Linked DNA regions of Homo sapiens: regions 2, 3, 4, 5 and 6 are each linked to region 1. Evidence: promoter capture Hi-C in 16 types of primary human blood cells and fetal thymus (Javierre and others, 2016). All regions are on one chromosome and are shown on one strand. The core of a region is centred on a gene start or on the middle of the fragment in contact, and the rest is flanking DNA. Distances in the headings are between cores, read along the strand shown.

What was found. Contacts are between HindIII fragments. The CHiCAGO score rates a contact against its expected background, and 5 or more counts as called.
Region 2: a contact is called between a fragment that was not itself captured here and the fragment with the promoter of BTK in region 1, in 1 of 17 cell types (naive B cells). The highest score is 5.5, in naive B cells.
Region 3: a contact is called between a fragment that was not itself captured here and the fragment with the promoter of BTK in region 1, in 10 of 17 cell types (monocytes, activated CD4 T cells, neutrophils and 7 more). The highest score is 9.0, in monocytes.
Region 4: a fragment that was not itself captured here is called in contact with the fragment with the promoter of BTK in region 1 in 4 of 17 cell types (M0 macrophages, M2 macrophages, naive CD4 T cells and 1 more); the score reaches 6.3 in M0 macrophages.
Region 5: a fragment that was not itself captured here is called in contact with the fragment with the promoter of BTK in region 1 in 1 of 17 cell types (total B cells); the score reaches 5.3 in total B cells.
Region 6: a contact is called between a fragment that was not itself captured here and the fragment with the promoter of BTK in region 1, in 2 of 17 cell types (M0 macrophages and monocytes). The highest score is 6.0, in M0 macrophages.

The regions. Positions count from the first base shown.
Region 1 is chrX:101,383,868-101,388,033 of GRCh38, reverse strand. BTK (Bruton tyrosine kinase) reads left to right here and starts at 1,843. Exons shown (of 19, transcript NM_000061.3): 1 at 1,843-1,972. RefSeq lists an enhancer at 2,357-2,576. The HindIII fragment of the contact is 7,609 bases long and covers 1-3,009 here.
Region 2 is chrX:100,893,059-100,897,224 of GRCh38, reverse strand. It overlaps a transcript of XKRX not described here. Among named protein-coding and RNA genes, the nearest start is that of NOX1, 21 kb to the right of the region's middle. RefSeq lists an enhancer at 1,331-1,832. The HindIII fragment of the contact is 6,104 bases long and covers 1-4,166 here.
Region 3 is chrX:101,801,653-101,805,818 of GRCh38, reverse strand. No RefSeq gene overlaps it. Among named protein-coding and RNA genes, the nearest start is that of ZMAT1, 130 kb to the left of the region's middle. The HindIII fragment of the contact is 4,080 bases long and covers 1-4,061 here.
Region 4 is chrX:101,760,461-101,764,626 of GRCh38, reverse strand. No RefSeq gene overlaps it. Among named protein-coding and RNA genes, the nearest start is that of ARMCX2, 100 kb to the right of the region's middle. The HindIII fragment of the contact is 1,847 bases long and covers 914-2,760 here.
Region 5 is chrX:101,052,311-101,056,476 of GRCh38, reverse strand. No RefSeq gene overlaps it. Among named protein-coding and RNA genes, the nearest start is that of TRMT2B, 2.3 kb to the right of the region's middle. The HindIII fragment of the contact is 843 bases long and covers 1,731-2,573 here.
Region 6 is chrX:101,658,892-101,663,057 of GRCh38, reverse strand. ARMCX2 (armadillo repeat containing X-linked 2) reads left to right here and starts at 3,208. Exons shown (of 6, transcript NM_177949.4): 1 at 3,208-3,300; 2 at 3,557-3,639; 3 at 3,910-3,982. The HindIII fragment of the contact is 1,645 bases long and covers 1,485-3,129 here.

The DNA of each region.
Region 1 (4,166 bases), core at 594-3,093:
TTAGCCAGGCGTGGTGGCAGGCACCTGTAGTCCCAACTACTCAGGAGACTGAGGCAGGACAATGGCGTGAACCCGGGAGGTGGAGCTTGCAGTGAGCCGAGATCATGCCACTGCACTCCAGCCTGGGCGACAGGGCAAGACTCCGTCTCAAAAAAAAAAAAAACTGAAGAAAAGAGGAGGGAAGATGAATGCCTGTGGCCAACCCTCAGGCAGGTGAGTGGAACAGCTATTGGGGGTGACTAGCGAAAGGATAGACGTTGTCAATAAAGTAAGGCAATCATACAACACATGCTGTCCATCTGTCTTGTGCAAATGTGAGTATCAACCACTCTATCATCAGTCTACAAATACTTTAAATGTTTTTATTTAAAGTCCTGTTGATGGCTGGGAGAGGTGGCTCACTCCTGTAATCCCTGCATTTTGGGAGGCCAAGGCAGGAGTATCGCTTGAGCCCAGGAGTTTGAGACCAGCCTGGGCAACATAGTGAAACCCCATCTCTACAAAAAGTAGAAAAATTAGCCCAGCACAGTGATGTGTGCCTATAGTCCCAGGTACTAGGGTGACTGAGGTGAGAGGATCACTTGAGCCCAGGAGGTGGAGGCTGCAGTGAGCCATGATCACGCCACTGCACTCCAACCTGGGCTTCAGAGCAAGACCCTGTCTCAAAAAAAAAAAAAAAAAAAAAAGGTCCCAGGGCCTGTTGGGGCTTGGGGGTGAGGGGAGGGATCTTAGAGGATGGGTCAATAGGTGCAGCAAATCACCATGTCACACATATACCTATGTAACAAACTTGCACCTTCTGCACATATACCCCATTTTTTTTGTTTGCTTGTTTGTTTGTTTTTTAGACAAAATAAAGAAAAAAAAATAAGGTCCTGTTGACTTAAAACTTCGGATGAAATTGTAGTGGGACCTGTGATCTGTTTCTACATTAGGATACAGTGCCTTGGGGCAAGGAAATATGGCAGTGCCCGAGGTGTCAAGGTGGGCAGGCAGATCAGTCAGCAGGGGCTCCACCATCATGGTCTGCATTCAATACTGGCTGCATTTCCTAGGAGAATCCCTGGGGGAATCATTGCAGTTGGAGCATAATGTAGGGGGCCCCTGAGAAAACCTCCAGGCTTCAAGTGACATACCTAGTCTGCTTTACCGGTTTACAGGACTCAAGAGAAAGGTGGACATTGAGAGTTAATCCCTGAGGCCAAATCTTAAATGGAGAAAGTCAACATCCACAGAAAATGGGGAAGGGCACAAGTATTTCTGTGGGCTTATATTCCGACATTTTTATCTGTAGGGGAAAAATGCTTTCTTAGAAAATGACTCAGCACGGGGAAGTCTTGTCTCTACCTCTGTCTTGTTTTGTCCTTTGGGGTCCCTTCACTATCAAGTTCAACTGTGTGTCCCTGAGACTCCTCTGCCCCGGAGGACAGGAGACTCGAAAAACGCTCTTCCTGGCCAGTCTCTTTGCTCTGTGTCTGCCAGCCCCCAGCATCTCTCCTCTTTCCTGTAAGCCCCTCTCCCTGTGCTGACTGTCTTCATAGTACTTTAGGTATGTTGTCCCTTTACCTCTGGGAGGATAGCTTGATGACCTGTCTGCTCAGGCCAGCCCCATCTAGAGTCTCAGTGGCCCCAGTCATGTTGAGAAAGGTTCTTTCAAAGATAGACTCAAGATAGTAGTGTCAGAGGTCCCAAGCAAATGAAGGGCGGGGACAGTTGAGGGGGTGGAATAGGGACGGCAGCAGGGAACCAGATAGCATGCTGCTGAGAAGAAAAAAAGACATTGGTTTAGGTCAGGAAGCAAAAAAAGGGAACTGAGTGGCTGTGAAAGGGTGGGGTTTGCTCAGACTGTCCTTCCTCTCTGGACTGTAAGAATATGTCTCCAGGGCCAGTGTCTGCTGCGATCGAGTCCCACCTTCCAAGTCCTGGCATCTCAATGCATCTGGGAAGCTACCTGCATTAAGTCAGGACTGAGGTGGGTCTGGGGTATGGCAGGGGCTGGGCAGCAGCAGCAATGTACCTTGCTTGGGACCCCTAAAAACCAGAGAGACAGCATGGCTGGTGCCATTTATCAGCTAGTGGAGGAGGCTGACGGAGGGTGGGAGTGTCATCAGCACAAGGCCCTGGCAGTCCCTTCTGGTGATTAGAGAGGCCGAAAGGGTCCTTTCCGACAAGGGCTGAGGGTGGGCGGAACAGGAAGAGAAAAATGTGACATGAGGTGACCATCCGAACAGGTAGCAAATGTTAGAAAGGGGTACCTCTGGCAAACTTAGTGGAAAAGTAATATTGCAGGGAGCAGTCAGATAAAAACAAGCCCTTCTGTCAAATAGTGCTTGAAGACTCAATAGGGATACATGGGTCAATGAAGCCTTTAGAAAAAGAAATACTAAGAGGCAGATTCTCTGAGAACATGGTAAAAGCTCACGCTCCACGTTATGAAGTTGACCTTTGTGAGCTAGGGAAAGGCCTGGCTAGGCCAGGGTGTAGGCTACCTGCCTTGAGCTGTACCAGGCCAAATGTCGCCAGGGTCAGAGCTGGCTTATTAAAGGACTGTGTGGAAGCTGTGCCAACCTCGTGGTAACAATGGGTAAAAGACTGGGCCAGGAGAAAGCAGCCTCTGCCTCAGCCCAGACAGTGCGGCCAACCCTTGAGGTTGTGGCAAAGGTTTCTCCTCTTACCATTGCCCTCCATGTGCATGGCTTGCTTTTCTCTTGTCTTCATTATTTCTCCTTTCCTTTCCTCCTCTCCAACCTCCTCCTCTTCCCACTCATCCTCTTTTCTCTACCTATATCCCCTCTTCATTATACCCTCCTCTGTTCTGTTGATTACCAGACCCTGACATACAGTTAGCACTTAACAAATAATTGCCGAATTGCATTGACTTTTTCTTGCTCCTTTCTTCCCCCGCTCTTTTCCCTTTTCCTTTCCCTTTCCATTTCCTCCTCCCTGCCTGCCTAGCACCTTCCCCATAAGGTGGTTGTGAGCAGTAAATGTGCAAATACATGTAAAGCTTTTAAAACAGGGCCTGGCAATAGTAAGTGCTGGATCTCAGTATTTGCTATAATTTTTACTCTGCCTCAGACCTGCCAATGTCCCCCAGAGGGCCTACCTAGAGCAAATAATATGACATTTAGAATAAAAGTGATTGGTGACCCCAATCAAGACATCCTTGGATAAGTTGCCCAGACTCCAGCCTCTCTGGAGCCTCAGTTATTTGATAAAATAATGTCACTTTCCAAATAAGCCACAAAATGCAAATACTCATGGCAACCTAAAGCATTATACCCAAACAGTGTCCCTTAGGGCTTGTCCTGTCTATTCTGACTCCTTTTATATTCAAACTATTTAAACTGCTTGCTTGTGTTGAAGTCCAAATTTCCATTGCGTATGGCTATTGATATTTTTGTTTGGAATTTTTTTTTTTTTTTTTTGACACGGAGTTTCACTCTTGCTGCCCAGGCTGGAGTGCAATGGCACGATCTCGGGATCTCAGCTCACCGCAACCTCCGCCTCCCGGGTTCAAACAATTCTCCTGCCTCAGCCTCCCAAGTAGCTGGGATTACAGGCATGTGCCACCACGCCCAGCTAATTTTGTATTTCTAGTAGAGACGGGGTTTCTCCATGTTGGTCAGGCTGGTCTCGAACTCCCAACCTCAGGTGATCTGCCTGCTTGGGCCTCCCAAAGTGCTAGGATTACAGGCGTGAGCCACCGCACCCACCCTGGAATTCTTTGTAAACTCCTTATGGTGCGAACTAATGTAACTTTCCATCCAGTTATGGGGGATTGGTGCAATTTTAAATTATCACTATGATTTGCTATTTCCATTTGAGCAAATTTCCTATAGAGTTTCCTTTCAGTGGACTAGACCCATATCAGGAAGTGACTTAGGTATAAAGGGAAGATACAGCTTTCGAAAACCAAAGTTTGGGCGTTCTCCAAAGAGTTATCAGATACCCCCTTCTACACCCACAATGATCTGATTGCTGAGATCTGATTGCTAACTACTGAAAATAAGGAAGAACTAGAATTTTCAGTGACACAGTGCTCAGCAAGAAGCTAGAAAAGAGGCCTTGACATATTTGACTCCAAAGCTACTTGGTTATGCATGAAGCCATCTGGGGAGGGGAAGGAGGAGGGAGAACTCCTCTGAGGACCCTGAAACAATTGG
Region 2 (4,166 bases), core at 869-3,368, 490 kb after region 1:
TTACCCAATTTCTTTATCTTGTACTTGTGTCTTTTTTCTCTTACCCTGACAATCTTTGTTTCTAAGTATATTAACTTCATACTTATTTGCTTAATTCTAAACAAACCAATAATAATTTAAAAATAACAATACCAATATTACTATTAACATTAAGACTATGGAAAGCAGTTTAAGATTTCTTTGTGCTTCATTTTGTCCTTAGATCATATATCATTAGGGATGTACGGTCAAAATATTGTTTTAAAGTAATTTGAAGGTATTCTATTTGTATGATTATGCCACCAACTTGATAAACAGTGAAGTTCATTTGTTTCAGTTTGTTTTTAGTTTTTTGGGATTGATTCTTATTTTCCCTTTGAGTTAATATTATTAAAAATTTTTTCTAATAATTTTTTTACATAGGGTGTCACTCTGTCTCCCAGGCTGGAGTACAGTGGCACAATCACGGCTCACTGCAGCCTCAAACTCCCGGGCTCAAACAATCCTCCTGCCACAGTCTCCTAAAATGCTGGTATTACAGGCGTGAGCCGCTGTGCCTGGTCACTTAATTTTATTTTTAATTATGCTTCCAAAGATGAAACTAGTTAACAAGATACATCCAGAGAAATTTAGCTTCCGTTCCTATTACTTCATCCTGTTCCCTCCTTCCCCCAGTTTTGTAAGATTGTGGTTCATACTTTTAATGTTTCTTATTTAAAAATATAAGCAAATATATGTATAACCACACATGTATGTGTGTATTTCCCTTTTTGTACACAAAGATGATACATGATAAAAACTGTTCTTTACCTTGATTTTTTTCACTTCATACATCCAGAGATCATTCCATGTGAATATATGAGAATTATTTTCCTTTTTACAACTGTGTATTACTCCATTATGTGGTTATATTGGGTTTTTTCAGTCTTTTAATATTATAAATAATGCCAATAAATAGCACTGGGCATATGTCATTCTGCATTTTTTTCCAGTATGTCTTTGGAATAGATTCCAGGAAGTGAGATTGCTCTATGTATTAACAAGTTCCCCTCCAAATGGGCTATACAATTTTGCATTCCCAGCAGCAATGTGTGAGGGAATCCAGGTCTTTTTATATCTTTCCACAGAGCCAGTGTGGACCAAATTGGTAACTCTGAGTTTTATGGCCTGGGAGAGACTTCACCTCCCTCACCACTCATCCCACAGAAATACACCACAGCTCACATCCTATTATTTTTCCTATTACATACCCTGTGCTTAAAACAAATGGGTTGCCTAGCAGGAATGAGCAACCCTTTGTGGCAAGCCTTGTCTTGTTATGAGCCACTTCTCAAGTTTGCCTGGCTGCCTGTGGCTGAGGAAGGTTCTGAAACATGTTAAACAGCCCTGACAGCCTGATTGCTAATGAGTCTACATTGTCAGCTGTCTACACTAACCAAGTGATCTCGCCCATGAACCTGTGTCTGGAGGGTATACCCCAGTATACACAAGGCAGAATGGAACATCAGATGTTCATCTTTCTGCTTCTCTGAAGTGCTTGCTTTCTATTCATTATTACCAACATTGAAATAGACCCAATGGAGGCCCCGCAAGACAGACCCATCATTGTTTTTGTTGTTGATCTTTCACCTGTGGTGCTGGCCTTCACTTCCATTTGCTGCCTCTCCCTGTGTCTCCTTGGAGCTCTCGCCATCTTGTGGCAGGTCAGCAGGCTTCAGAACGGAAATGTCGACTTTACCTAAGTGTGAAGAAAATCAAATCCAAACTCCTTACCATGCTATACTGTATATGTGCAATGTATACTGTTCATAATTTGCTTCAAAATGCTTCAGTACCAGCTGTGTGATATACCTTATTTCATCTATTCTAAAATGCATATCTTTTTCACTTTTAATCACCTCTGAAATTAGGATGAATTTTACCATTAATAATATGTCATAATTTAATTAACAGCAAATTTTCTTTCTGGGTGCAGAAAAGAATGATGAGTCTTACAACCTATGACATTTTGGATTCATGAATTAATTATTTAACAAAATATTGTGTCTGTCTATGAAATGATCTTTTGAAATACCAGCCTAGGCTGGGGACAGTGGAGGTAGGAAGAAGGGGTGGATTTAGTATATACTTTGAAGTGGAGGAGAAACCGGTAATGTTTATTCATACTGATAAACAATTTTTACAATTCATTGTTAATTAGTTTTAATCCACACTCTGGGGGTGGTTAGTTAACATCCGAATTATTCTAATCAGGAATACATACTCAGGAGTGATTAGTTATTATTTGAAAGATCCTACTCAGGTGTTTACATCCCAGAAGTAATTATACCCCAGGATATTCACTTTTTCCTGTCTGAACTTGCACTAACTCAGAAATTCTTATACTTTATTTTTGCCATGGTCCCCTTTGGCCAACTGGTGAACCCATTTCAGAGTCATGCTTTTAATACCCAAAATAAAATACATAGGATTACAATCAAAACCAATTGTGTAAGCCTGTAGTTACAGCACTTTGGGAGGCTGAGGTGGCAGGATTGCTTGAGGCTAGGAGTTTGAGCCAGTCTGAAGAACATTGGAAGACCAGCCCCCCATCCCATCCCACTCCTCCCCACTGCCTCTACAAAACATTTAAAAATTAGCTGGTCATGTTGCTGTGCACCTGTGGTCCCATCTACTTGGGAGGCTGATTACTCCCCTGCCATCGCTTGAGCCCCGGGAGTGGAGGCTGCAATGAGCTATGGTTACACCACAGGCTGAAAAAAACATAAATGCATTCAAATGCAGATATCAAAATATTAAAGATGCAATTTATGACATTAACATGTGCTTCTTCACCCTCAGGTTTATTAAGGTATGATTGACAAAATTGTATATATTTATGGTGTACAGCATGATGTTTTGATATCTGTATGTATTGTGAAATGACCAAGTCAAGCTAATTTAAATATAATTATCTCACGTACTTATTATTATTATTTTGAGACAGAGTCTCGCTCTGTTGCCCAGACTGGAGTGCAGTGCCGCAATCTTGGCTCACTACAACCTCCCCCTGCCGGGTTCAAGCAATTCTCCTGCCACAGCCTCCTGAGTAGCTGGGATTACAGGCATGCGCCACCATGCTAGGCTAATTTTTGTATTTTTAATAGAGATGGGGTTTCACCATGTTGGTCAGGCTGGTCTCAAACTCCTGACCTTGTGATCCGCCTGCCTCGGCCTCCCAAAGGGCTGGGATTACAGGCATGAGCCACCGCACCCGGCCTACTTTTTAAAAAATTTTTATTTTAGATTCAAGTAGTACATGTGTATGTTTGTTACATGGGAATTAAATGTGTAATGGTGAGGACTGGGCTTCTAGTGTACACATCACCAAAATATTGAACATTGTACCCAGTAGGTAATTTTTCACCCCTTCCTCCTCTCCCACTCTCCCTCCTTTGGAGTCCCCAGAGTCTATTTGCCCCATCTTTATGTCCATGTGTGCCATTTGTTTAGCTTCCCCTTGTAAGTGAGAACATGCACTATTTGATATTCTGCTTCTGTGTTGGTTCACTTAGGATAATGGCCTTCAGCTGCATCCATGTTGCTGCAAATGACATTATTTTGTTCTTTATTGTGACTGTGTAGTATTCCATGGTGTATCGCCACCACATTTTCTTTATCCAATCAACTGTTGGTGGACACTTAGGTTGGTTCCATGTCTTTGCTATTGCACATAATGCTGTGACAAACATATGTGTGCAGGTGTCTTTTTTATACAATGATTTCTTTTCCTTTGGATAGATATACAGTAGTGGGATAGCTAGATTGAATGGTAGTTCCCTTCTTAGTTCTTGGAGATATCTCCATACTGTTTTTTTGTAGAGGTTGTACTAATTTACATCCTCACCAACAGTGATATACTTACCATTTTTGTGTGGTGAGAACATTTAAGATCTACTCTCTTAGCAATTTTCAAGTATATAATACATTATTATTTACTATAGTCACCATGCTGTACAATAGATCTCCAGAACTGATTCATCCTCACCGAAACTTTGTACATGTTGACCAACATCTTTCTATTTCTCCCACCCCAGTCCCTAGTAGTCACTATTCTACTCTCTGCTTCTACCAGCTCAAATTTTCAAGATTCTACACATAAGTGAGATCATGCAGTATTTATCTTTCTGTGCCTGGCTTATTTCACT
Region 3 (4,166 bases), core at 772-3,271, 420 kb before region 1:
GCACAAACTGGTTGAAACTGGTAAGGCCTTCTGGATTTGCTTTGAGCCATCAAAGACAACTAGAGTTCAGGTCAGTCTGTTCCATTTTATAAATAATATAATATCCTTGAGTTAAAAAAATAAAATAAAATGAACACCATCTGTATTGCAAAATTTAAGAGTACAAAGTATATAAAAAGCTGGAAGAAAATAGTTGCAATCTGTATTGCAGCTATGTGGTTAATATCCTTGATACTTTAACCAACAGAGAAACGGGCCGAAGATTACAATAGAGAATGTACATGAAAGTAACATCAATACCCAGTGAACATTTGAAAATATGCCCAATGATATAAATGATGAAATGTGAAACAAGCTCTCATACTACATGAAACAGATAAATATCAACACAGTATGCAGAGGACAATCACAGTTTGTAAAAGAGTACACTTTTACATTTGGAAAAATATCTGTGCATTTTATTAAGACACATAGAAAAGTCAACAGAATATATATCAAATTATTAATAATGAATATCTTCTGGTTGGGGTGGGAGTGCAGACTGGACAGTTAATATACTGATGTATTAATTTGGCAAAATGAATAAACCTCAAAAATGCTACTTTCAATGCTGGTTATGAAACCTTCTTTTCAATAAATAATAATTACCCTTATCTTGAAATAGCCATTTACTTCTTTCTTATTTTAAAATATATAATTCATATTAAGAGTTACTCTATTTAACTGGCTAAACTTTGTGCTGAGAGAGCTGATGGACAAAACTGCCTAGGGTCAGAGAAAAGAGGTCACAATATGCACAGATGTAATGCTCCTAGGGCAGTGACCAGGACTTCACAAATAAACCGTGGGTGCCAGTACTGTCACCTCCCTGAAGGCAGAAGAGACCATTCAGTTCGGCAGTGGTAAGTCCAGCATGGATGCCAGACCTCCCCTTCCCAGGAGAGCATCCATAAAGTGTCTGCTCATTATTAGGACACTGGAGGAAGGGCTCTGCATTGGACACATTTGCACTATAATTTACAGACATAATTAATATACCTGACATATAAGGAAAACTACTATCTAAAAGAGTTGTGTACATGTCTACCAACAGGTAATTTAAAGAAAAAAATGAAGGCAATGGCAATCAACATATGTAAAATTGCTTAAACACATCAAAAATTAAAGAAATCTAATAAAAAGCACTGAGATGCAGAAATATATAAGCAAGTTACAGAACATAACATACAACATGGCATGATTTTTGAATGACATATATTTCCATAAGGATATACATAGGTCATTTTTTTTTTTTGAGATGGAGTTTTGCTCTTTTTGCCCAGGCTGGAGCGCAATAGCGCAATCTTGGCTCACTGCAACTTCTGTCTCACAGGTTCAAGCAATTCTTCTGCCTCAGCCTCCCGAGTAGCTGGGATTACAGGCACACGCCACCACACCCGGCTAATTTTGTATTTTTAGTAGAGACAGGGCTTCTCCTTGTTGGTCAAGCTGGTCTTGAACTCCTGACCTCAGTTGTTCTGCCTGCCTTGGCCTCCCAAAGTGCTGGGATTTCAGGCGTGAGCCACTGCGCCCAGCCACATATGTCATATTTTAAAATATAAATGAACCCACAGAAACAAATCTAGAGAATATTTACAAATCAATTGAATTATTATCTTGAGAAAGGTCATAGTAATAGGGGAAACATAAGACAATGCCTCTTATAATTGTATATTTCTCCAGTGTTTTCAAGAGCTGGGGGAATACATACAGCTCACTGATTTTTAATTCGCAAAATAACCGAGATACAATTATGACAGCATAGAATAAACCTAGTTGTAGTTTGATTTACAAAACTAATGCTGAAAAAATATATAGTTCTGGACATTAAAAGATATTAAATGTCAGATAACATAAAAAGGAGGTTATACACCACATTATATTTATAACGACACATACACATTCACTCAACTGTGTTTAATTTGAGAGGGGGGTCAAAGGAAACATCCTGTCACATGAATTAATACCCATGGGCTCTGTCGCCATCTCTGCTTAGTGCTTTGTCTGCCGTATAACTTCCAGAAAGTTTATTCTGGTGGGCTTACACAGCCCTCCTTTCCCTCCTTCCCTCCTTCCTAGATCTCTTGCTAAAGTGATATCCAAGCTGCAGTTCTAGATTGGGTCAACAGATGGCATTGATTGACTTTCAATTTCAATTTTATTTTTCAATGAAAAAAATACTCATTTCACAAAATGAACAAATTGTACTTTGAATGGAGATTATGAAGAAGTATGGAAATAAAATAAAGATTCATTCCTTAACTCAGCAATTAACACATTTCATTTACTACATTAAATTTTGTAGAATATGGTTCTCAAACTTCAGCTTGCATCAGAATCACTTTGGACCTTGTGGCAAACTGGGGAGTACAGGTACCCCATAAATTTGTACAAACAACAAAGAAAGAAAAGACTGCTAGTACCAACCACAAGAGTTTCTGATTCAGTAGGTCTAGGATGGAGCCTAAGAATTAGCACTTTCTAGCAAGTTCCCAGGTGATACTGACACTGCTGGTCTGGGGACCAAACATTGAGATCCACCAATGCAGATCATAAAAACAAACACAAACAAAGCAAAATAGCACCTTATCCTTTACATAATACCTGGAGAATCACACTGTGCTGAGAATGCTGGGATCAAGGAAATGGGGTCATAGTGTGCAGTGGGACCACAGACTCAAGCAGTGGATACCACAATGTCACTCTCTGTAAAGCATGAAGGGACCAGTCACTAATCAATACAACGGCATAGAGCCCGTATGTGGACAATGTGGTGATTTCATCACATCTCCCACCCCAGGGGAGCCCTGTGGGTGAAGAATTAAGCTCCAGGCTCCCTGAGGCTCAGGGATCTAAAGTAACTGCCCAGATCTCACCTGGCCAAGCCCTGTTTCTTCCACTGCATCTCCAGACCGGGTGCTCTTTATTAGTTAAAGTACATTTTTTTAGGCTCTGCTTATTATTATTAAGGTAATCCACACTCATTTTGGACCATGTGGAAAATAGTGTCAAATACAGACAAGAAAATATATCCAGCACTCCTGCCCCTTCATGGTAAACACAATTAACATCTTGGTGTATTCTGTTATAGTATTTTTTCTCTACTTTAATATATGCCCACAAAGATAGATAGTAGCATTTCTGGAGAAGAGACATCTGTTTGGGGGGAAGTGACAGGACTGCTATCAGGACACAGTTCCTTTGACTGCAGCCTTCTGTACAGCAGATCTGTTATTAGGATTGGTTCCTCTGCACTGTTTCTTCATTCCAAGACTCAAAGGAAATCTCTTTATCTTGCACCTCTTAGAGTCTTTCTTCCCTTACAACATAAAAGACAAAGTACTAAGGACAGGAAAGCACATATGATGGTAGGAAATGGCATGAGGATTTTTCTGTTCCCTTCCAAAGCCCCTCAGGTAACTCATCCTACAATACTGGACAGTCACCATGGCTAATACATCACATTTCCCTCTGTACACTTAGGGTCCCAACTGTTCTCTCTTAGAGTTATGCATTTAGTTTCTATCACAGACATCTCTTCTGCAGAGAAGGCAAGGTGAGGCTAAGATAGTAAGCACTAAAGCCTCCCATGGGTTTCTCATTTCCCTAAAACAACTCTGAAAAGAAAGCATCATTATTTTCATTTTACTGATGATCAGCTCCAGGCTTGCCAAAGATAAACCACATATCCAGATAAGTGGCAACAATGAAATTCAGCCACCGAACATGCCCAGAGTATACCCAGCAGCTTCTATTGTAGATGTGGGCTTCTACAATGCAATGTGGGTAAGAAATGATAGTTGTAAACTTTTCTGGTATTGTGCTGAACTTTGGCATGCCCACATGGGAAAATACTTAGACAACTCCCCTTAGTGATGATGTTTGTGGAGAAGAAATCCTGTCCTAGGCTAGGAGGCATGTTGATTGGCAGTTCCTGAAGTAGCGAATAAATCAGATGAAAGTACAAGTTTTAGACATTGGGAAAGTGACATGGAGGAAGGAAATTCTTGTTTATCAAAGCTTGAGTTACATCTAAGGAATTTTATATTGTATCTCTTCTAAATATGATAATAAATTCAAGGTAGGTAATAAGGATCGCTTACGAGAAATGAGGAAAGCCAAGACTT
Region 4 (4,166 bases), core at 588-3,087, 380 kb before region 1:
CTGTACAGACTGTCCTGCAGGACAAATTTCTGCAACAGGAATTGCAGTGTCAAAGTGCCTAAGCCCCTTTTTAACTGATGAGATGAATTCAGGGAAAGGAAATACCACCACTGTGCATGGGATTAGAAATTGGTATTGAACATTTTAAATCTGCATTTGGCAATGCCATATGTTTTGGTTAAAATTTTTTACTTTCAGGAATTTATCCTATGGAAAATCTTACAAAAGTTCCAAAAATATATGCACAATCACCATGGTTGTACCATGGTTTCAAATAGGAAATTCTTGAAACATGTTTTGTTGTAAGATAAATTCCTCAGAACAGAATGGCTGGATCAAGGCTCCTCAGGATATAAAATACTTAATTAAATGGAAAAAATAAGATTATTTGAAGAAAATAAGAATTACCACCAATTCTTAGGCCCCCAGTCATAAAAAAAAATCACCTCTTTCTTTTATATTACTAGGATATATAATGTTCTTGGAAATAGTTACCTGGAATAGGGGGAGTTGTGCCTATTATGGCACTGTGTTGGACAGCTAATATACATACTATTTCAAGATCAATGTTATAACCAATTCCAAGATAAGGAAACTGAAGTTCAGAGGGTGAAGAAACTTGTAGGGGTAAGAGCTGGGATGGAATCTCCAGTACAGTTTAATATAAAGCACAGCATATTTATCTATATTTTGATAATTCCATCAGATTACTTCAAGAACTCTGCAATGAAAGGATTACTTTCCTCCTCTTTAGAACAAGAAAATGGGAAATCAGAAGAGTTAAGTACCTTACCTTTTGGTCACCCCCTAGCAATGGGCAAAGCCAGAGGAGAACACAAGGTATGTATAGCCCCAAAACATTTTCTCTTTCCAACCTATCACACTCCCTTGTGTTCCCTAGCTACTAAAAGCTTTTACAGGCTTTGTTTCTGTTTGTAAAAATAATCCATGCCCATTTAGGATATTATCAAAAGTACAGACAGGTATAAAAAGATACAAGTAACTTCCAATCATACTCTCATTGATAAACAGTGTTCATAGTTTCTTGAATCTCATTGAAACTAGAAATATACACATACATGCAAATATGTGTACAGCTGCATACCCATTTTATGGAACTGCAATCATACTGGATAGATAGGTGGTGGTGTGTACTAATGCTTCACATTATATCATATGGCATGAGAATAAGATTTCCCATTCTTTTGTTAGTGAACAGTTTAAAATGACCCAACATCAATTCTTAGCGTCTATGAATTATTAAGTAACAGCAAATGCCACATTTATGAAATTCTCAATGTCTCTGTACACTTGGTTCTGCTTCTTATTTTTCTATTCTGTCCCATTAATATGTATGTCAGTTCTTGCACCACCACTGAACCCTTTTAATGCTGCAGCGTAATAGAACCTGTCATCTAAGGTGAAACACTACATTCTTCCCAGCCCCAAACCCTTTATTATTCTTCTGATGGTCTTGAAAAAGCCAATAATAAAGGAACATGATGATAACATTTATTGATTACTTAGTGCCAGACACTTTACTAAATGCTGTACATGCATGTTCTCACTTAATTTTCAGTACAGCCTAATGATGTTGTTGCCATTATAACAGCCATTTGAAATATTTTTAAATGGGTCTCAGAGAGGTTAAAAAATTTGCTAAAGGTCATGCAACCAGAAAACAATAGCACCCAAAGCCCAAACCCCCTAACCAGTTATATTGCATGTGACTTGGTGTTAGAGATGAGGCCAGCACAGAGGAAGTGACTCATCTAAGATCCAATGGTCCTTATTATATTTGGTTCCCCTGTACTGTCTCCTTTTTCCAGAACTTACTGGAAAACTATTTCTTCAGATGTTCAAGTAGAAAGTGAAGTAACAGGGACAGAAATTCAATAGAATACAAGGAAATAGTACAATATTGTCTTCCCTTTCTCCAAATTCTTCTGATAACATTCTACAACTGAGATGGCACCCAAATTCATACATTATGTAAATGCCTATACATTTCCTTTCTTGTTGCTACATTTCCAAATGCTCTGACAGTTCTGCTCTTTCTTTTATGTCGAAGTCTCTTTTATCGTGGTGAGGAGTCATGGTGAGCAGAACAAACATTTGCTGAAGTTATATTATGCACCAAACATTTCCTTAAGTTCCCTCATTTTCCCTACACAATTCTGTGGGGACAGTATCAATTGTTTCCCATTTTGCAGTGGAGAAGTTCAGGCTCACAGAGTATAAATCGATTTTCCAGAGTCACACATCTGGTAAGAGGCAGGAATGCAGTTGCATCCCTCACCCTCCCTAGAAAACCCTGAGCAGCCTCCTTCTTAGAAGATGGGCTTCCAGGGCTTGAGAAATGGTCAGATTCCACTCCCCTGCTATTGTGGACCCACAAATCTGCACTCCACAATCCCTTTGGGTGATGAAGAAGATAGAGGAGTTGAAATCCTGCCCTTTGCGCAAAGAGACCTGGGTGTAGGGCCACATGAGTTGGCAGATCCCTGAAGTGGTGAGTGGGCTCAGGCAGAAGCTCAGGCTTTAAAAGACTGGAGAGGTGATCTGCTGGATGGAAATGAACAAGAAAATCATTCTACATCGTGGTAACTTTATATCTCATCTCCTTTAATCCCAAAAACAAACATTCAAAGTAAAGATTACTATCTTCATTCTTACCTAGAGCTCAAACCACCTAGGTCATTAATATCCTAAATTACAGACCAGGTAGTCTAAGCCTGAAATTTTTCTAAAACCCAAGCTTTTCTCACTGCATCTTGTGGCCTTATGGGCTTTGAATGCTCTCTGTGTCTATCTCACATTAGACTGGCAAATTACTCCACTCTAGTGTATTCTTCAAACATTTATAATTAACCACATTGTCTTTTAATAATAAAATGAAAATTTGAAACATTTGCATTGCAAAAGCTGATAAAAAGAAATATAAAATGGGAAAAAATGATGCACGTGTATTACAGACATTGAGTTAATGTTCATAATATATAAGAAGATGAGCATATGGCTTGATGTGGTTTCAATTTATGTCTGTTGTTTCACAGACCACCTTTTACTCTCAAAAGTGTCAATTCACAAAAAAATGGAAAAATATCCCATGTTCACAGAAAAGAATAATTAATATCATTAAAGTGGCCATACTGACCAAAGCAATCTACAGATTTAACACTATTCTTAATTTTTCACAGAACTAAAAAAAAAAAAATCTGTTCTAAAACTCATATAGAACAAAGTGCCCAAATAGCCAAAGCAATCCTAAGCAAAAGGAACAATGCTGGAGTCATCACACTACCCGACTTCAAACTATACTATAAGGCTGCAGTAACCAAAATAGCATGGTACTGCTACAAAAACAGACACATAGACCATGAACCGGAATACAGAACCCAGAAATAAGACCACATACCCACAGTCATCTGATCTTTGACAAAGTTGCAATGGGGAGAGGGCTCCCTATTCAATAAATTGTGCTGGGATGCCTGGCTAGCCATATGCAGAAGAAACTGGACCCCCTACCTCTCAACATATATTAGTACAAAAATTAACTAAAAATAGATTAAAGATTTAAAAGTAAGACCTCAAATATAAGAATCTTAGGAAGACAACCTAGGAAATGCCATTCTGGACATCAGCCTTGGGAAAGTGTTTATGACTGAGTCCTCAAAAGCAATTACAACAAAAACAAAAATTGACAAATGGGACCTGATTAAATTAAAGAGCTTCTGCACCGCAAAAGAAGCTATCAGCAGAGTAAATAGACAACCTACAGAATGGGAGAAAATATTTGCAAACTATGAATCTAACAAGGCCTAATATCCAGTATCTATAAAGAACTTAAATCAACAAGCAAAAAGTAAAGGACATGAACAGACATTTCTAAAAAGAAGATATGCATGTGGCCAACAAGCATATGAAAAAATGCTCAACATTACTTATTAGAGAAATGCAAATCAAAAGCACAATGAGATACCATCTCACACCAGTTAGAGGGGCTATTATTAAAAAGTCACAAAATAGCAGATGCTGGTGAGGTTGTGAAGAAAGGGGAATGCTTATACACTGCTGGTGGAAATGTACGTTAGTTCAGCCACTGTGGAAAGCAGTTTGGAGGTTTCTCTATGAACTTAAAACAGAGCTGCCATTCAACCCAGCAA
Region 5 (4,166 bases), core at 903-3,402, 330 kb after region 1:
TCTTGGCCAGGTGCGGTGGATCATGCCTGTGATCCTAGCACTTTGGGAGGCCGAGGTGAGTGGATCGCCTGAGGTCAGAAGTTCAAGACCAGCCTGGCCAGCATGGCAAAACCCTGTCTCTACTAAAAATACAAAAAATTAGCCAGGTGTGGTGGCAGGTCCCTGTAATCCCAGCTACTTGGGAGGATGAAGCAGGAGAATTGCTTGAACCCAGGAGGCGGAGGTTGCAGTGAGCTGAATTCACACCATTGCACTCCAGCCTGGGCAACAAGAGTGAAACTCCATCTCAAAAAAAAAAAAAAAAAAAAAAAAAAAGGAAAAGAAAAGAAAAAAAGAAGAAAAAAAAGCAATTCTCCTGTTTCAGCTCCTGAATAGCGGGGATTACAGGCATGCACCACCACGCCCAGCTACTTTTTGTATTTTTAGTAGAGACGGGGTTTCACCATGTTGGCCAGGCTGGTCTTGAACTCCTGACCTCAGGTGATACTGCCCGCCTCAGCCTCCCAAAGTGCTGGGATTACAGGCATGAGCCTCCTTACCCGGCCTTAGGTGGTTTTTGATCAAGGAGAACTTTAGAATTGTGGTGCTTGTCCAAGATGGCGATGCTCCTGCTTGGTAAATTTTAATATGTTATTTCTGAGAGCGAATGCTGTAGCCTCTCAGCTATCTTTTCCTTGCACCAAAATGAGAATGTTTGACAAATTCCTAGGGATTTCACTTTGTTGTGATTTGGTTTGCTAATAACAAAATTAAGTAAAAGGTTATCTTGGTTCCAGCTCTTATTTGAGTTAACAATATTCCTTATCATCTATGACATATCCACTTACTGACTTTCTGGTTGAAGGGTCTAACCTTTCCTATAATACGGGGTATTTCTTTCCCCTCTTACAAATGTAATGATTTCGCTTTTATAGTAGAATATGCTTTACCAGATTAAATAAATATAAAGGGGTTAATGGCTAAATAATTACATTATAGCTGCTTTAATCTCTTTTCTCTCTCTACCCCTCAGGGTTTTCCTCCTTGAATGACAGGCCTGCTTTAAATGAATTTGCCTGGATGCTCAAAATAGGTGGGGGTGAGGGAGGAAATGCCTTCTCTCTTTCAGCAGACAAGATGGAATTCAGTTTAATTAATCAAATATTAATATTTATTGAGCTCGTATGGGACACCTGATTCTGTGCTAGGCACAACACAGAAGGCCAAAACGAGAAGTGATAAAGGAGCAGAAGGGCTTGGGAAGGGGAAGAAAGGGGAAGAGGAGGTGATAAAAGGTGTAGAGCTGTCTAGCCATATAAGAGGGGATTAAAAGATGAGAAAGGGAAAATAGAGCCAAAGGTAAATTCTCTGGCCTGGTCTCACTTGATAGCCCTGCATGGGCCTAGAAGGCTGAAGCAGTGGTTTGAGTTCAAATTTTGCTTATGAGCCATGAGAGCAGTTAGGATAGTGGCAATTTGAGTCAAACATTTACCTCCTCAAGGGTTTAGGATGGAAGTGAAATCTCTCTTTAAAAAACAAGAAACATACACGTGTGTGTTTGTGTGTGTGTGTGTGTGTGTGTGTGTGTGTGTGTGTGTTGTGGGGGCCAAAGTCATTGGCCCCTGAAGGTTCACTAAAATATCACTGATATGAGGCTGATTCATAGGAGAAAAGGCATACAAATTTATTTAACATGTACACATGGGAGCCTTCATCATGGAGACCCAACCTCCCAATAATTAACAGAAGCTTATATATCATCTTGAAATTACAGAAAGAGACCAGGCGTGGCTCATGCCTGTAATCCCAGCACTTTGGGAGGCCGAGGCGGGCAGATCACGAGGTCAAGAGATCGAGACCATCCTGGCCAACATGTTGAAACCCCGTCTCTACTAAAAATACAAAAATTAGCTGGGCGTGGTGGTGCAAGCCTGTAGTCCAGCTACTAGGGAGGCTGAGGCAGGAGAATCGCTCGAACCCGGGAGGCAGAGGTTGCAGTGAGCCGAGATCGCGCCACTGCACTCCAGCCTGGGTGACAGAGCGAGACTCCATCTCAAAAAAAAAAAAAGCCGGGCGTGGTGGCTCACGGCTGTAATCCCAGGACTTTTGGAAGCCGAGGCGGGTGGATCACGAGGTTGGGAGATCAAGACCATCCTGGCTAACACGGTGAAACGCCGTCACTACTAAAAATACAAAAAATTAGCCAGGCGTGGTGGCGGGCGCCTGTAGTCCCAGCTACTTGGGAGGCTGAGGCAGGAGAATGGCATGAACCCGGGAGGCGGAGCTTGCAACAGTGAGCCGAGATCGCGCCACTGCACTCCAGCCTGGGTGACAGAGCGAGACTCCACCTCAAAAAAAAAAAGTAAGAAATTACAGAAAGAATGTGGACGAACTCAGAGTATATACAAAAACAGGTTTTAGTGGCAAGATAGGTTATGGAAGAAAGGAAGAGACTTGGTTTGTGAAGGTGGCCTTGTCATGTAGAGGAAGCCTCCTTCCGAAAGAATAGCTGGTAAATGCTTCTTTTCAAACTTTTAAAGATGTCAGACTCTCAATCTCTCCTGGATCCAGGTAAGGCATAGAAATGGGAAGCTTGGCTGTATTCAAGGAGGTTCTCTACAGATGCAAATTTCCCCCATCTCAGTCCTCTGGTCCTGAGGCAGCCATTTCAAACATATGGCAAATACATTTATTTTGGGGTAAAATATTTTTATTTTCTTCAGAATGTATGAACACACAGTATATCAACTTATTTTGAATGATAATAGCTAACTTTGTGTACTTACTGTATTCTAAGCACTTTGTGTGTATTAACTCATTTAATCGTTGTCACAACCGTATGAGGTAGGTAAAATTATTGTGGACATTTTTTTTCAGATGATGAAACTGAAGCACTGAGTAATTAAATAACTTGCTCAGTGGACACAGCTTATCAGTGGCAGATCTGCTGGGGGTGGTGGCTTATGCCTGTAATCCCAGCACTTTGGGAGGCCGAGGCAGGCGGATCACCTGAGGTCAGGAGATCGAGACCAGCCTGACCGACGTGGTGAAACTCCATCTCTACTAAAAATACAAAAATTAGCTGGGCGTGATGGTGCACTCCTGTAATCCCAGCTACTCGGGAGGCTGAGGCAGGAGAATCGCTTGAACCTGGGAGGCGGAGGTTGCGGTGAGCCGAGATCACACCATTGCACTCTAGCCTGGGCAACAAGAGCAAAACTCTGTCTCAAAAAACAGAAAAATAGAAAATAAGTGGCAGATCTGGGCTTTGAATCCTATTCTGACTGACTCAATGTTTGCTGCTATTTGAAGTATTGGGCCTTGTTTAATTTACTACTGTACTCACTAAGGCTAACACATTGCCTTGCACATAATAGGCATGTTATGCTTTGAATAAATATTAATACATGAAATGTTGACTACAAAGTGTTTTCCACTTGAGCACAATTACTATTAAGCATAAAAATTAAATATCATTAAATGTACGTTCACTATTTTTTTTTTTTGAAACGGAGTTTCACTCTTTTTGCCCAGGCTGGAATGCAATGGCATGATCTCAGCTCACTGCAACCTCCACCACCTGGGTTCGAGTGACTCTCCTGCCTCAGCCTCCTGAGCAGCTGGGATTACAGGCGTGCGCCACCACGCCTAGCTAATTTTTGTATTTTTAGTAGAGATGGGGTTTCACCATGTTGGTCAGGCTGGTCTCGAACCCCTGACCTCAGGTGATCCTTCCGCCTCGGCCTCCCAAACTGCTGGGATTACAGGCGTGAGCCACTGCACCCACCTCGGTAGGTTCACTTTGCTGTAAATTTTACTCTATTAAAGCAACAATATTTTACAGCACACAGATGTGTGTATACTTCAAGTTTTCTTACTCGTGGCTGGGCTAATGACTCCTCTAAAAATTAGAGGTATTACTGAATGTAGTCCAGGAGGTAGTGAATCAACCAAAAAGAGACATCTGTCCTCTTTTTGAGTTCTGTAGTTGAAGAAAAAGATTATTTCTGAGGGTTTAGGATTTAATAGTCTTGAGTGGGATCCAGTGAAGAAACTATAAAGTATTTTTCTGATGCAGTGTTAAAAGAGAATGAATGCTTGAGAAACCCCACGGCCCAGAATAGATCTGGCTTTTACCAAAGGATGCCATTTCACGGAACCACCCTGTTTCTCATCTCCCAATCTTC
Region 6 (4,166 bases), core at 1,058-3,557, 270 kb before region 1:
ATCTAACTAAGTGTGGTGATGTGGGATGGAAATACATCCCAGGTAAGGAGACGAGCAACTGAAAAGGCTCTGTAAAGGGAACATGTCCAGTATATTCCAGGAACATCAAGAAAGCCAAGATGACTGAGTAGGGTGAGTTAGATAGAGAGAGAGAAGTAGATTAGGCAGAAAAGTAGTAAGATTGAACAGGGTAGGGCCTTGTCAGTTATAATAAGGACATTTATATTTCCTCTAAACAACACAGTAAGTGGGTGGGGAGTTTGAACAAGGGACATGTGTCTGGATATGTTGAGAATAAACTATAGGAAGAGAAGAGTGACAGGGAGACTGGCCTGTCTACATCATTCCTGACAACAGCAAACCAAAGAAGAAAAGAAACCTCATAATGAAAGCATTTGATAAAATAAGTAACCATTCCTAATTTAAAAAAAAAGTAAAATAGGAATAAGAGGGAACTTCATTTATGTAGTAAAGAATTATACGTAATTTAATGAGTCGTTCTTAGATGAATTAAATTAGATATAAAAGAAAATATCCTTAACCTGATGAAGAAGATATCAGGAGCTCTTCTGATCTGGCAGATTCATCCCTTTCTCTGGACTATCAAGATTACAGAACTTAATGACTTGCCTCCATTCACTGATAGTATTTCTTTGTACTACGTGTGTGTGTGCACGTGCGACAGAGAGAAAGAGAGGGACTAGTAAACATAAGTGAAATTAGCCTTGAAAAAAAAATACATCAATCACAAACAACAAAAGTTATACTAAATAATGAAACAAAAGAGGCATTCCCACTGTCTTCAAGAACAAGATCAGGAGGCTCGTAAGGAAGTTCTAGTCAATGCCAGTCATTAAGTTCTGTGATCTTGGTAGACCACAGGGAGGGACGAATCTGCCAGATCAGAAGAACTTCTGATATATTCTTCATCAGGTTAAGGATATTTTCGTTTATGTCTAATTTAACCAAGAATGACTCATGCAGAAGAAGAAAGAAAAGGGGGCATAAATGTTGGAAAGGAAGAAATGAAAAATCATCATTTACAAATGATTATATATAATACCAAGATAAACCAAAGGTATCACTTTAAATTAGAATTAATAAAACAGATCACAAAAATTTGGAACTTGATTAATAAGCACAAACGCACTACTAATGTGTCTAAAAAGAAAGTTGGAAACTGTTGACAGTGGCTGGGAGTGGAAAAGATAACAAAAGTTTCTTTCCCTGTATACTTTATATATTTCCTTATTGTTTTGAATATTTTTAACCACTAATATATAATACTTGTATTACCAGAACAAAATACAAGATTCCTAATCTGGACTATTATATATATATAACACAGACCCTCTTGGCCATTGTATTAGCTCTTAATTTTTTGCAGGGCGGGGGTTACAGACCCCTTGAGAAACTGATGAGGTCAGTGATCTCTGTTCCTGAAAAAAATGCATTTAACCACACATATAATCCCAAACAAAGCTTTGCAGGTGAATGCAATTTCAGGTGGTCTACAGAGTTGACCGGGTGAGAACACCTACTCTGGGTTCATCAGTGGGGATTGTTCCCTGGGCATACATTTGGTTGAGAGGGCACCAAGGTGGATGTGTACTGGCAGGCAGTAACCTTGCAGGAAGGCTAGACTCTTCCTAGGTCCCCTGGAGCTAAGGAGGCAGAAGTGAGAGGCCCAGGAGGATGCATCTCTTAGGCCAAGTGGTAGTAGCAGACAGTGTTTGGAGCAAGGTTCACTGGTAACCACGAATAAGGACAGACAGCAGTCAGGCCTGGGAACTTCCCCCAACAATCACTTTTTGTGTGATCACAAAAACCTTTTTGTGAAATCACAGGTTTCACAAATCGTCAGCTGCAGGGTCAGGTAAGAACAGCAATCCTTTCTATGCATCAATGGGTTTCCTCTGGGAACTTGGGGGAGGGACGGAAAGAGCCAAAGACATTTAACCAGGTCTGCATCTTGGTCACTTGTCTGGATATATTTTGGGTGTGAGCAACTGAGCCAGGTACCTGAATGCAGGAGATGAGCGGCTCTGGCATATGGGAGGGAGTAGAGAGACAGCATCTCCCTCCTCCTCCTGACAGGGCAGGGAGGATTTGACCACTCTGCACCCACCACACTCAGTTTCCTTGGCCTCACAGCTCTTCCTTTTGCCCAGAGTTGAATCATTAACTGGAACCTAATCCGAAGACAGGTGTTTAAAACTGTCATGGTTACAGCCATCAAATTACAGGAGGTTCACACACAGCAGTCAGCAATGGTTTGGGAATATTAAATAAATGTGTTTCTCTAACAGGACAAGACAGGATCATTTATTTATGCAACTTAAAAGCTGTCCCAGAAGGAGAAAAAAGTAGCGTATTATTTGTCCAAAATAAACAAGATTGAAGAACTGAACATCTCTCTGTGGATCAATTTACAGATCACATGGAAATATGCTTATCTTATTGAGAAATATTCCATTTTAGATGTTCAAATACCTTAGCATATTTTAAAAACTATTTCCTATGTGACCAAAAGAATTCATGTTCTATTCGGTAAAAATTAACCAAAATTAATGGTGCTTTCCAATGGACGCAGGAAACCTTTTTTCTTTACAAAACATGCCCACCCTTTTTTTGTTGCTACTTCCCACATTGAATTCTTGTTTTACTGAATTTTCTTACTATAAAAATAAAGCATGATGATAGTTTTGAAAACAAAACAGAAGTATTTGAGAAGTACAGACCCCACTCCCACTCCTTGTCTCCTTTCTGACACTCTGCCCCTTAACTATACTGGAACAGGGAGTCAACTGCAAGGAAAATCCTGGGGACTAGGGGCTGAGGAACTAGAGGTGGAGAGATGGAAGAGTGTCCAGTAGCCCAGGAAAGGATGAAACAATTCCCCAACAAAAAAGTAAAAATTTTCAGTAGCCCTCCGAGAAGATGCAGCCCCTCCCAGGTAACCAGAGAAAGGCAAATTGTGAAAGCAGGGAGAAGGGGCTACTTTAGGCCTCCAGGACTACAAAGACAAAAAAATGAGTGACAGGACCTGATGTGGTGGGGTGAGATGGGAATGGAAGTAAAGGAGGGGGCTCGTACTCTTGGTGGGAGTGGAAATTGGGGACCCAAGCTTACTGGCGATGCAGCCCTCACGTGACCAGGAGCTGACGTGGGCAAAGGTACTTAAAGCCCTGACCGTCGTTCTCCGTCCTCCTCTGGGTACCAACTCTATTGCGCAGCTCGCTGCCGTGCGTTTAACCCAGGCGAGGAGGAGGAGGAGAAAATTCCCCCAGATTCGGGCAGGTGGGTGTGAGGGTGGGCACAGTCTGGGACCCCTGAATAGGGGTAATCTAGGGATGCGGGAGTCGGAGGCCGCGGGTGCCTCGGTCTCCCCCACTCCTGGCCGGCTTTCCAGACCTGAGGTGCTCAAACGCGGCTCATTTTGGTGGGCGGTGGGGAAAGGGGGAGGGGGAAACGAAAAGACTTTTGATAGACTTTACGAAGAATCCGCTTACTTCCTTTCCAGCCAGTGTTTTTTGGTTTTGTTTATAATATTCAGGCCCGCACCCCACATTCCGTCCTGTTTTGAGAGGAGGAGGGAAGAGAAATAAACGTGGCAGCGCATAGAAGGCCAGCAGGGAGGTTGGGAAAGGGTAACCAGGAGGCGGGGGTGGGGCATGCAATTTGGTAACAATCTGGGCGGCACACTCCCACCCTGACTTTCCCCACCACCGCCCCGGCACCCTCCCATCCCCCAGCCGACCCTCTGTGATTTGGGAGTGCTGGGAAATGGGTGTACCAGCTGCTGTTGGAGAGGTGGCGGGTTTGGCGCTGTCTGGGCTTCACGGGAGGTGGGGGGGAGGGGGCGGACCCTGAGAGAATCTGGTATTAAACCGCCTTGTTAACTCGCAGACTGCTTTCCAGACACCTCCGGCCCACACAGCCGTTCACCCCCCGTCTTTTCAGTCCTGGAAAAGGAATTCGGGTATGCAGGCGGGAGAAATGGCGGTTGTTGGGGGGATTTGTGGGAAGTGGGAGGTAGAGCCCATAGCAGAGAAATCGTGGAAAATCTCGACCCTGAACCCGAAAAGGCAGACGTTGAGGCCCCTCTTCTGCAGGCTAACGCTAGGCCTAGGGGCTGGGGAGCGAAAGATGGGTGATCCTGGGAG